Linked DNA regions of Homo sapiens: regions 2, 3 and 4 are each linked to region 1. Evidence: promoter capture Hi-C in 16 types of primary human blood cells and fetal thymus (Javierre and others, 2016). All regions are on one chromosome and are shown on one strand. The core of a region is centred on a gene start or on the middle of the fragment in contact, and the rest is flanking DNA. Distances in the headings are between cores, read along the strand shown. Region 1 holds the start of HAMP (hepcidin antimicrobial peptide). Region 2 holds the start of HAUS5 (HAUS augmin like complex subunit 5). Region 3 has its middle 6.6 kb from the start of ZBTB32. Region 4 has its middle 4.7 kb from the start of LINC01766.

The links. The method cuts DNA at HindIII sites, captures the fragments that hold promoters and counts their contacts. A CHiCAGO score of 5 or more calls a contact.
Region 2: a contact is called between the fragment with the promoter of HAUS5 here and the fragment with the promoter of HAMP in region 1, in 2 of 17 cell types (M1 macrophages and naive B cells). The highest score is 6.9, in M1 macrophages.
Region 3: a fragment that was not itself captured here is called in contact with the fragment with the promoter of HAMP in region 1 in 1 of 17 cell types (neutrophils); the score reaches 5.0 in neutrophils.
Region 4: a contact is called between a fragment that was not itself captured here and the fragment with the promoter of HAMP in region 1, in 2 of 17 cell types (total B cells and naive CD8 T cells). The highest score is 5.5, in total B cells.

What each region holds. Positions count from the first base shown.
Region 1 is chr19:35,281,246-35,283,945 of GRCh38, forward strand. HAMP (hepcidin antimicrobial peptide) reads left to right here and starts at 1,283. Exons shown (of 3, transcript NM_021175.4): 1 at 1,283-1,422. The coding sequence starts at 1,333. RefSeq lists an enhancer at 1,145-1,654. The HindIII fragment of the contact is 2,484 bases long and covers 65-2,548 here.
Region 2 is chr19:35,611,390-35,614,089 of GRCh38, forward strand. HAUS5 (HAUS augmin like complex subunit 5) reads left to right here and starts at 1,346. Exons shown (of 19, transcript NM_015302.2): 1 at 1,346-1,503; 2 at 2,341-2,403; 3 at 2,479-2,511; 4 at 2,646-2,670. The coding sequence starts at 1,406. It overlaps HAUS5-DT (HAUS5 divergent transcript), which reads right to left and starts at 1,275. Exons shown (of 2, transcript NR_186318.1): 1 at 1,229-1,275. RefSeq lists enhancers at 1,080-1,635, 1,224-1,483. The HindIII fragment of the contact is 7,658 bases long and covers 1-2,700 here.
Region 3 is chr19:35,696,570-35,699,269 of GRCh38, forward strand. No RefSeq gene overlaps it. Among named protein-coding and RNA genes, the nearest start is that of ZBTB32, 6.6 kb to the right of the region's middle. The HindIII fragment of the contact is 1,755 bases long and covers 417-2,171 here.
Region 4 is chr19:35,591,867-35,594,566 of GRCh38, forward strand. No RefSeq gene overlaps it. Among named protein-coding and RNA genes, the nearest start is that of LINC01766, 4.7 kb to the right of the region's middle. The HindIII fragment of the contact is 9,877 bases long and covers 1-2,700 here.

The DNA of each region.
Region 1 (2,700 bases), core at 33-2,532:
AAGAGCAAAAGCCCTGGAGTCAGGCTGTCCAGGCTAGAATCTCAGCTCTGCCTCTGGCTGAGCAAGCTTGGGCCATGCCCTGATCTCTGCCTTCAGTGCCTTTTCTGTAAAGTGAAGGAAATGAGTGTCCGACGGGGAGGAGGTTCCTAAAAGGGAGCAGGGTCTGGGGAGCCCAGGCCTCTGGGGTTGGGTGACTGAGAAGGCAGCCCCTGAATACAGAGCAGAGCTGAAGGTGGGGCAGTAAGTGCTGCTGGGAGAACAGGCAGCACAGGCTGAGTTGGTGCAGAAGTGAGTCAACATATGTGCCATCGTATAAAATGTACTCATCGGACTGTAGATGTTAGCTATTACTATTACTGCTATTTTATGTTTTATAGACAGGGTCTCACTCTGTCACCCAGGCTGGAGTGCAGTCACACAATCATAGCTCACTGCAACCTCAGCCTCCTGGGCTTAAGCGATCTGCCTCAGCCTCCCAAGTAGCTGGGACTACAGATGTGTGCCACCACGCCTGGCTAAATTTGTTTAAAATTTTTTTTGTAGAGATGGGGTCTCCCTATGTTGCCCAGGCTAGTCTTGAACTTCTGGGCTCAAGCGACCCTCCTGCCTTGGCCTCCCAAATTGCTGGGATTACAGGCATAAGCCACTGTGCTGGGCCATATTACTGCTGTCATTTATGGCCAAAAGTTTGCTCAAACATTTTCCAGTTACCAGAGCCACATCTCAAGGGTCTGACACTGGGAAAACACCACGTGCGGATCGGGCACACGCTGATGCTTGCCCTGCTCAGGGCTATCTAGTGTTCCCTGCCAGAACCTATGCACGTGTGGTGAGAGCTTAAAGCAATGGATGCTTCCCCCAACATGCCAGACACTCCTGAGGAGCCTGGCGGCTGCTGGCCATGCCCCGTGTGCATGTAGGCGATGGGGAAGTGAGTGGAGGAGAGCGGAACCTTGATTCTGCTCATCAAACTGCTTAACCGCTGAAGCAAAAGGGGGAACTTTTTTCCCGATCAGCAGAATGACATCGTGATGGGGAAAGGGCTCCCCAGATGGCTGGTGAGCAGTGTGTGTCTGTGACCCCGTCTGCCCCACCCCCTGAACACACCTCTGCCGGCTGAGGGTGACACAACCCTGTTCCCTGTCGCTCTGTTCCCGCTTATCTCTCCCGCCTTTTCGGCGCCACCACCTTCTTGGAAATGAGACAGAGCAAAGGGGAGGGGGCTCAGACCACCGCCTCCCCTGGCAGGCCCCATAAAAGCGACTGTCACTCGGTCCCAGACACCAGAGCAAGCTCAAGACCCAGCAGTGGGACAGCCAGACAGACGGCACGATGGCACTGAGCTCCCAGATCTGGGCCGCTTGCCTCCTGCTCCTCCTCCTCCTCGCCAGCCTGACCAGTGGCTCTGTTTTCCCACAACAGGTGAGAGCCCAGTGGCCTGGGTCCTTAGCAGGGCAGCAGGGATGGGAGAGCCAGGCCTCAGCCTAGGGCACTGGAGACACCCGAGCACTGAGCAGAGCTCAGGACGTCTCAGGAGTACTGGCAGCTGAACAGGAACCAGGACAGGCACGGTGGCTCATGCCTGTAATCCCAGCACTTTGGGAGGTTGAGGCAGGCAGCCCACTTGAGGTCAGTTTGAGACCAGCCTGGCCAACATGGTAAAACCCCGTCTCTACTAAAAATACAAAAGTTAGCCAGGCTTGGTGGCAGGTGCCTGTAATCCCAGCTACTCGGGAGACTGAGGCAGGAGAATTGCTTGAACCCGCAAGGTGGAGGTTGCACAGTGAGCTGAGATTGCACCACTGCACTCCAGCCTGGCAACAGAGCAAGACTCCATCTCCAAAAAAGAACAGAAATCAATGAAGCACCGAGTGACAGGGACTGGAAGGTCCTAATTCCATGGGTATTTACGGAACCCCTACGCCGTGTGGAGTCTTATTCTAGACAGTGGGGACGAGGCCATGAACAAGGTAGATGAGAGAGGAGATTTCTCCATCCTGGTCAGGGAATTTGTTAAAGACTGATGAAAACATGAATAAATAATTGTGTCTAGTACATTCTATTCGTGAATCTCATAACAGACAGTGGTAGAGTGACCGTGACCCATTCGCCACACAGTAGAGTCACTTTTTTGGTTTGTTTTTTAGAGACAGGGTCTTCCTCTGTTGCTGAGGCTGGAGTGCAGTGGTGCAGTCATAGTTCACTGCAGCCTCAACCTCCTGTGCTCAAGCAATCCTCCCACCTCAGCGTCCCAAGTAGCTGGGACAGCAGGCACATGCCACGGGTTGGGGGACCACAGGCATGGTCAAGGGGCTGGCAGTCAAGCAAGTGTTTCATGAGAAAGTGACAGTTGACCTTCGTCTTGGAGGGTGAGAGATGGAGGCAGCAAAGACCTAAGGAGAGGACAAGCCAGCATAGCCCAGGGTCAGGCTGAACAAGAGGAGATGGTGGGACTTGGGGATAAGGCTGAGGGGTGGGCAGTCCCTAAGTCTTGTGGGCAACCATGCAGACACTGATTTTTCCTTGGAATAAAGAGGAAGCCCCCATAAGCTTTTTTTTTTTTTTCTGAGATAGGGTCTCGCTCTGTCGTTCAGGCTGGTGTGCAGTGGCATCATCTGGGCTCACTGCAACCTCCGCCTCCCGGGTTCAAGCAATTCTCCTGCCTCAGCTTCCCGAGCAGCTGGGATTACAGGCGGCTGC
Region 2 (2,700 bases), core at 96-2,595, 330 kb after region 1:
TTCTTACAGGAGCGCAAACCCTATTGTGAACTGTGCATACGAAGGATCTAGATTGCGCACTCCTTATGAGAATCTAATGCTTAGGCGGGGCATGGTGGCTCACACCTGTAATGCTAGCACTTTGGGAGGCTGAGATGGGCTGATCACTTAAGGTCAGGAGTTCAAGACCAGCCTGGCCAACATGGTGAAACCCCGTCTCTACTAAAAATACAAAAATTAGCTGGGCATGGTAGCGGGCGCCTGTAATCCCAGCTACTCAGGAGGCTGAGGCAGTAGAATCGCTTGAACCCCGGAGGCAAAGATTGCGCTGAGCCGAGATCGGGCCACTGCACTCCAGCCTGGGTGAAAGAGGGAGACTTCACCTCAAAAAAAAAAACAGGGAAGAAAAAAAAAAAGAGAGAGAGAGACAGAGAATATAATGCCTCACGACCTGAAGTGGAACAGTTTCATCCCGAAACCATCCACTGCTCCCACCCTCCATCCCCCAGACTGTGGAAAAATTGTCTTCCATGAAACCAGTCCCTGATGCTCAAAAGGTTGGGGACTGCTGGTCTAGCGCAGACCTCTCACACCTGCTGTGTCCCAAATTGACCCACCCCTGCTGCTTATTTTTACCACCCCTACCTGGTGGTGCGTCTGTCTCCCCACTCAACTGTGAGCTCCGTACAATAGGGACCAGGGCTGTTGTGGTCACCATGGTGTCCCCAGCATCACCCAGCACAGGGTCAGCTCCCTGAGTTTATGGAATGGTAAGCACGAATGAATGGGAAAACGCATGCCAGGGAAATGTTAGGGTCATGCTCTCTGCCCCTACCCTCCACTCAGACATGAGACACCTGTTTCTGAAATCAAAGAGCAGTAAGTCCAGGATCTCATTGCCTGGTTCCAGTCCTCCTAGGACGCAAGTCCCATTTTGTCAAGAAAATAAAGGGGGTGAGCGTGGTGGCTCACGCCTGTAATCCCAACATTTTGGGAGGCCGAGGCGGGAGGATCGCTTGAGCCCAGGAGTTCAAGAGCCCAGAAGCTGAGACTAGCCTGGGCAACAAGTGAGATCCCATCTCTATTAAAATAAAAGTGTTTAGTTAAAAGAAGAAAAAGAAAATAAATGGAAGCATCAAGGACTGTTTTGCCTCTTTCGGGTTAGCTGGTAGTGAGCGGGAGAACGAGGGAAGGCGGGCGGGGCTGCAGTCTCTCCACGCCCTTTTCATTTCCACTCAAGGAGACCTACCTGGGAAGAGTGAGCGCTGCAAGACCCAGCCTGACCGCGCTAAGATTACTATGCAGCGCCCGAGCCCGCTGTCTGCCCGGCAACCGATGACGTCACTGTTGGCGCGCCCGTGACGTCAGAGGCGGGCGCCACACTTGAAGAGGCTGAGGGAGGCGGTGTCGCCGCCGCGGCGCTGTCATGGAGCTAGCGCAGGAAGCGCGGGAACTGGGTTGCTGGGCGGTCGAAGAGATGGGGGTGCCCGTGGCGGCCCGGGCCCCGGAATCGACGCTGCGCAGGTGAGGACCGCTCCTGGAGTGAGGACACCCCACCCTGGAGATTGAGTCTCCGGGAGTGAGAACTCCACCCCTCATTGAGGACTCGACTCCCCCCAATTCCCCATCGAGAGTGACCCGACTTACTGAGGGCTCCCTACCCTGGGAGGCTCCCCAGAGTGAGGTCCCTAGCACTGGTGAGGATCCTCCACGAGTTAGCTAAGACCTCGCTCCTTATGGAAATAGGATCTCCAGAGTGAGGCTGTCCCCGCAGCACCTCCCCTCCCTCCCTTAACCTAACCAAGAAGGACACTCAGGAGTTAGCCGTGGCCACCCCATCGGGGATTGAAGCTGTAGGAGTGATGCCCCACGTCTGGTCATGAGATGGCACTTCCTGGCAGTACATCCCCCACCTCCACCTCTGGATGTGACTGGGATAACCCACTCCCAGGAGAAAGGGAGCACCCGCCTCTCCCGCGCTCCCCCACCACCCGCCTTCCCAGGGAATGAGAATAACACCACACTTAGTGCAAACATCCAGTCCCTACAAAAAAAATGTTTTACCAATTAGCCGGGTGTAGTGGTGCCTGCCTGTAGTCCTAGCTACTCTGGAGGCTGAGGTGGGAGGATCGCATGAGCCCAGGAGGTTGAGGCTGCAAGGAGCTATGATCGTACCACTGCGACAGAGCGAGACTGTCTCTTAAAAAAAAAAAAAAAAAAAAGGCAAAAAAAAGTTTGGGCCTTCCCTCCTCAAGAAGTGAGAACTCCCTAGTAAAAACTCCCTACCACCATCACCCTAGGAATGAGGATCCCACACCCTGTGTGCTGCCCCAGGCATATGCTTACACACTGTCCCCACAGGCTGTGTCTGGGCCAGGGGGCTGACATCTGGGCCTACATCTTGCAGCATGTGCACAGTCAGAGGTAAGCTGGGCTAGAGCAGGGGAGGGGGCACAGGTGAGGCCCATAGTAACTCCTCTTTCTGCCTCTGCACTGTAGGACTGTCAAGAAGATCCGGGGAAACCTACTCTGGTAACTGCTTCTTAAAGCTATCCCCTCCTGTCTTCCCCACTCCCATTTAGCCCTGTCCCCACCACAGCATCACACCTATTGCCCTCCCCCCTAGAAGCCCCACTCATCCGCTGACTCTGGCCTCGTTTTCCTAGGTATGGCCACCAGGACAGTCCACAGGTGAGAAGCATATGCTACAAGATTCTCTTT
Region 3 (2,700 bases), core at 44-2,543, 420 kb after region 1:
CCCAGGCTGGAGTGCAGTGACCCAATCTCAGCTCACTACAACCTCTGCCTCCTAGGTTCAAGCGATTCTTGTGCCTCAGCCTCCTGAGTAGCTGGGATTACAGGCGCCCGCCACCATGCCCGGCTAATTTTTGTATTTTTAGTAGAGATGGGGTTTTGCCATGCTGGCCAGGCTGGCCTCCAACTCCTGACCTCAAGTGATTAGCCAACCTTGGCCTCCCAAAGTGCTGGGATTACAGGTGTGAGCCACTGCGCCTGGCCAGGAGTTTAATAAATATTTGAGTGAAAGTAAGTTTCTTGACCTTGACGCATGGGCCCTAGAGAGCTAGAAGACCTGAATTCTAAGCTTCATTCCTGTGCAACTGTGGACACTGAGCCTCAAATGTAATCATGGTCTGGGGTTTTTCCAGAGATCAAAGCTTGGGGAAAGTCCTTTGTTCTCTGAAAGGTACAGGGTTATTTTCACATCTGTTATGAACACTCGTGCCGTTGAGCTGAGCTCCTGAGTCTTAGTCAGCTGCCTGGCTCCAGGTGGACTTCCTGCTGTACCTCAGATATACTAAGCTCACTCCTGCCTTGGGGCTTTTGCGCTTGCTACTGCTTCTGGGAACACACTGCCCCCAGGCTTTCCCATGATCCCTTAATTTTCAGGGTCTACACCACAGCCAAGGCAGATGACACTGATTGCAAGGAAACAACTCGGTTACAGGGCATTGGGGAACAGAAGAAATGCCACTATTCGGCTCACGCCTGTAATCCCAGCACTTTAGGAGGCCGAGGTAGGTGGATCACAAGGTCAAAAGATCGAGACCATCCTGGCCAACATGGCGAAAACCCGTCTCTACTAAATATACAAAAATTAGCTGGGCGTGGTGGCCCGCGCCTGTAGTCCCAGCTACTCAGGAGGCTGAGGCAGGAAAATCGCTTGAACCCAGGAGGCAGAGGTTGCAGTGAGCCGAGATCGCGCCACTGCACTCCAGCCTGGAGGGCAGACTCCATCTCAAAAAAAAAAAGAAGAAGAAATACCACTGCTCTATTAGTTCATTTAATCCCCTCAATGACTTTGAGAGGTACACACTTTTTTTCTTTTTTTTTGAGACAGGTTCTCACTCTGTCACCCAAGCTGGAGTGCAGTGTTGCAATCATGGCTCACTGTAGCTTCTACCTCCTGGGCTCAGGTGATCCTCTTACCTCAGCCTCCCCAGTAGTTGGGATTACAAGTGTGTGCCACCACACCTGGCTAATTTTTGTATTTTTTGTAGCCATGGGGATTCGCCATGTTGCACAACCTGGTCTTGAACTCCTGAGTCCAAGCAATCCTCTCACCTCAGCCTCCCAAAGTGCTGGGATTACACATGTGAGCTACCACGACCGGGAGTATGTACCTTTTTTTTTTTTTTGAGATGACGTCTCGCTCCGTCACCCAGGCTGGAGTGCAGTGGTGCAATCTCAGTTCACTGCAACCTCCCCCTCCCAGGTTCAAGCGATCCTCCTGCCTCAGCCTCCCGAGTAGCTGGGATTACAGGTGCCTGCCACCACACCCAGCTAATTTTTGTATTTTTAGTAGAGATGGGGTTTCACCGTGTTGGCCAGGCTGGTCTTGAACTCTTGACCTCAGGTGATCTGCCTGCCTCGTTCTCCCAAAGCGCTGGGATTACAGGCATGAGCCACTGCACTCAGCCACTCAGCCCTTTTTTTTTTTTTTTTTTTTTTTTGAGACATAGTCTCACTCTGTTGCCCTGGCTGGAGTGCAGTGGCATGATCTCAGCTCACTGCAACCTCTGCCACCTGGGTTCAAGCGATTCTCACGCCTCAGCCTCCCGAGTAGCTGGGATTACAGGCTTGTATTTTTAGTAGAGACAGGGATTCACCATGTCGGCCAAGCTGGTCTCGAACTCCTGACCTCAGGTGATCCGCCCACCTCGGCTTCCCAAAGTGCTGGAATTACAGGTGTGAGCCACCATGCCTGGCCAATATGTACTATTAATATGCCCATTTATGATATGACCATTTAATATGCCCAGATGAAGAGATTAAGGCCCAGAGGGGTTAAGCAATTTGCCAAAGGTCTCACAACTAGTAAATAACAGGGCCAGGATATGATGCAGACAGTTTGGATCCAGCATTCAGCTACCTAGGCTGCAAGGCTCTCTGCTTCTCAGTGTACAGTTAAGCTTAGTTAGTGTAGGATCTGGCATGGGGAGTTGCTCAATAAGCAACTGAAGGCAGGGGCTTTTTATTTATTTTTCTACTTCTTTCAGACATTTAACTCTCCAAATCTTACAGTCCAACCCCCCAAGCCAAGCCAACAACCCTTCCTATACCATCTTGCCAGAGCCCAGGGTCCCTCACTCCATCTTCTCATGCCTTCCTGGCCCATAAAAAGGATTCAATAATTTGTAGTAATTAGCTGGGCATGTTGGCATGTGCCTGTAGTCCCAGCTCCTCAGAAGGCTGAGGCAGGAGGATCGCCGAGGCTAGGAGTTTGAGGCCACAGTGTGCTACGATCGCACCTGTGAATAGCCACTGCACTCCAGCCTGGGCAACACAGCAAGACCCCATCTCTAAAAAAACAAAACACAGGAAACCTGTATTGTAGACCAGCTTATTAAAACAGAAAGAAAATAACCAGGTGTGGTGGCACATGCCTGTAATCCCAGCTACTCGGGAGGCTGAGACAGGAGAATCGCTTGAACCTGTG
Region 4 (2,700 bases), core at 200-2,699, 310 kb after region 1:
TTTGGGAGGCTGAGGCGGGTGGATCACCTGAGGTCAGGAGTTCGAGACCAGCCTGGCCAATATGGTGAAACCCCCATCTCTACTAATAATACAAAAATTAGCTGGGCATGGTGGCACACAACTGTAATCCCAGCTGCTCGGGAGGCTGAGGCAGGAGAATCACTTGAACCCGGGAAGCGGAGGTTGCAGTAAGCCAAGATCACGCCATTGCACTGCAGCCTGGGTGACAAGAGCGAAACTCCATCTCCAAAAAAAAAAAAAAAAGTTGGAGTGAACATGCCTGCAAAATCTTCTGGGCCTGTAATCTTTTTCGTGTAGCAGATTTTGAGTACTTTGTCTTCACTATGATGGTGAAAGCAGCAACTCTCGGAGTCAAGTACAAGCCACTGTTATGAGCAGCTTCGGAGTATTGATTCTTTTGGTCTCCACACTAACCCTATAGCCTGCATTCTTACAGACTGAGGATAAAGCACAGGGAGCTGGAAAGACACAGTGCAGGTCTCACAGCGAATTCACTGAGGGGCCAGGATTGGGAACCAGGAAATCTGCCACCAAAAGCCGTGTTCTTAAGCACTAGGTGGACAACACTGCCTCCCATCGACCGTTAGTAGCAATTCAATCTTTTTACCTGCTGGAGTCACTTGTTAATCACTTACCTTTCTCTTAACAAATCATTTTTATTTTCGACATAGAAGCTAACTTGAAGGAGCGCCCACTGGCCCAGAGTGGTACAACTTAAACATCAAAAATATTAATAACGGCCAGGCGCGGTGGCTCACTCCTGTAATCCCAGGACTTTGGGAGGCTGAGGCAGGTAAATCAATTGAGGTCAGGAGTTCGAGACCAGCCCGGCCAACATGGTGAAACCTCGTCTCTACTAAAAATATAAAAATTAGCCAGCCGTGGTGACAGTCACCTGTAATCCCAGCTACTCGGGAGGCTGATGCAGGAGAATCGCTTAGAGCTCGGGAGTCGGAGGTTGTAGTGAGCCGAGATGGCGCCATTGCACTCCAGCCTGGGCAACAAGAGCAAAACTCCGTCTCAAATAATAATAATAATAATAATAGTAATAACAATAATAGATTTAAACACACCAAATATATATCATATTTAATGATGAAGGATGGAATACTTTCCCTATAAGATCAACAACAAGGAAAGGATGTCTGCTCTTGACACTCCTATTTGACATAGTGCTGGAAGTTCTAGTCACTGCAAGAAAAAAACGCAAACAGGGCCCGGCGCAGTGGCTGACGTCTGTAATCCTAACACTTTGGGAGGCAGGAGGATCACTTGAGACTAGGATGTCAAGACCAGCCTAGGCAACACAGCATGACCCCATCTCTACAAAAAATATTAAAAAATTAGCCAAGCATGGTGGCACATGCCTGTAGTCCTACCTGCTCAGGGGGCTGAGGCAGGGAGATCACTTGAGCCCAGGACTTTGAGACTGCAGTGAGCTATGATCACACCAACACTGCACTCCAGCCTGAGGAATAGAGTGAGACTCTGTCTCAAAAAAGAAAAAAAGGCATTTAGATTGGAAAGGAAGAAATAAAACTGTATCTGCAGGTGACATGAGATATGTGTGTGTGTGTGTGTCTGTGTGTGTAGTTGATGCAAAAATAATTGCGGTTTTTGCCATTGAAAGGAATGACTGCTGGGCATGGTGGCTCACGCCTGTAATCCCAGCACTTTGGGAGGGTTTTTTTTTTTTTTTTTTTTTTTGAGATGGAGTCTCACTCTGTCACCCAAGCTGGAGTGCAGTGGTGTGGTCTCGGCTCACTGCCAGCTCCGCCTCCCGGGTTCACGCCATTCTCCTGTCTCAGCCTCCCGAGTAGCCGGGACTACAGGCACCCGCCACCACGCCCAGCTAAATTTTTGTATTTTTAGTAGAGACGGGGTTTCACCTTGTTAGCCAGGATGGGCTCGATCTCCTGACCTCGGGATCTGCCCTCCTCAACCTCCCAAAGTGCTGGGATTACAGGCATGAGCCACCGTGCCTGGCGTTTTTCTTTTCGTTTTTTTTTTTTCTTTTTTTTTTTTTTTTGGAGATAGAGTCTCACTCTGTCACCCAGGCTGGAGTGCAGTGGTGTGATCTTGGCTCACTGCAACTTCCACCTCCTGGGTTCAAGCGATTCTCCTGCCTCAGTCTCCCTAGTAGCTGGGATTACAGGCGCCCACCACCATGCCCAGCTAATTTTTGTATTTTTAGTAGAGACGGGGTCTCACCATGTTGGCCAGGCTGGTCTTGAACTCCTGACCTTAGGTGATCCACCTACCTCAGCCTCTCAAAGTGCTGGGATTACAGGCGTGAGCCACAGCCCTGGACGGATGTATTTTCAATACATGTCTTTATAATGCATGTGAAAGCTAACGCATACATGGGAGACAATGAAGGGACCAATATGGTGGAAGTTTTCCATATTCCACTTGAAGTTGCAAAATATTCAATCTAGGTAGACTATAGAATGTTTAAGTGTGTTTACCATAATCCGTAGAGCAATCACTTAAAACTTGCAAAGATATATAGTGAAAATCACAATAAATAAATTAAAATGGAGTACTAAAATAGTATTTGAATAATCCAAAAGAAAGAAGGAAAAGGGAAAACAAGGAACAAAACACAGAAAAGTGGAAATAAAAAACAAATAATAGTAGACCTAAAGCAAAACATACCAATAATCATATTTAAGGCAC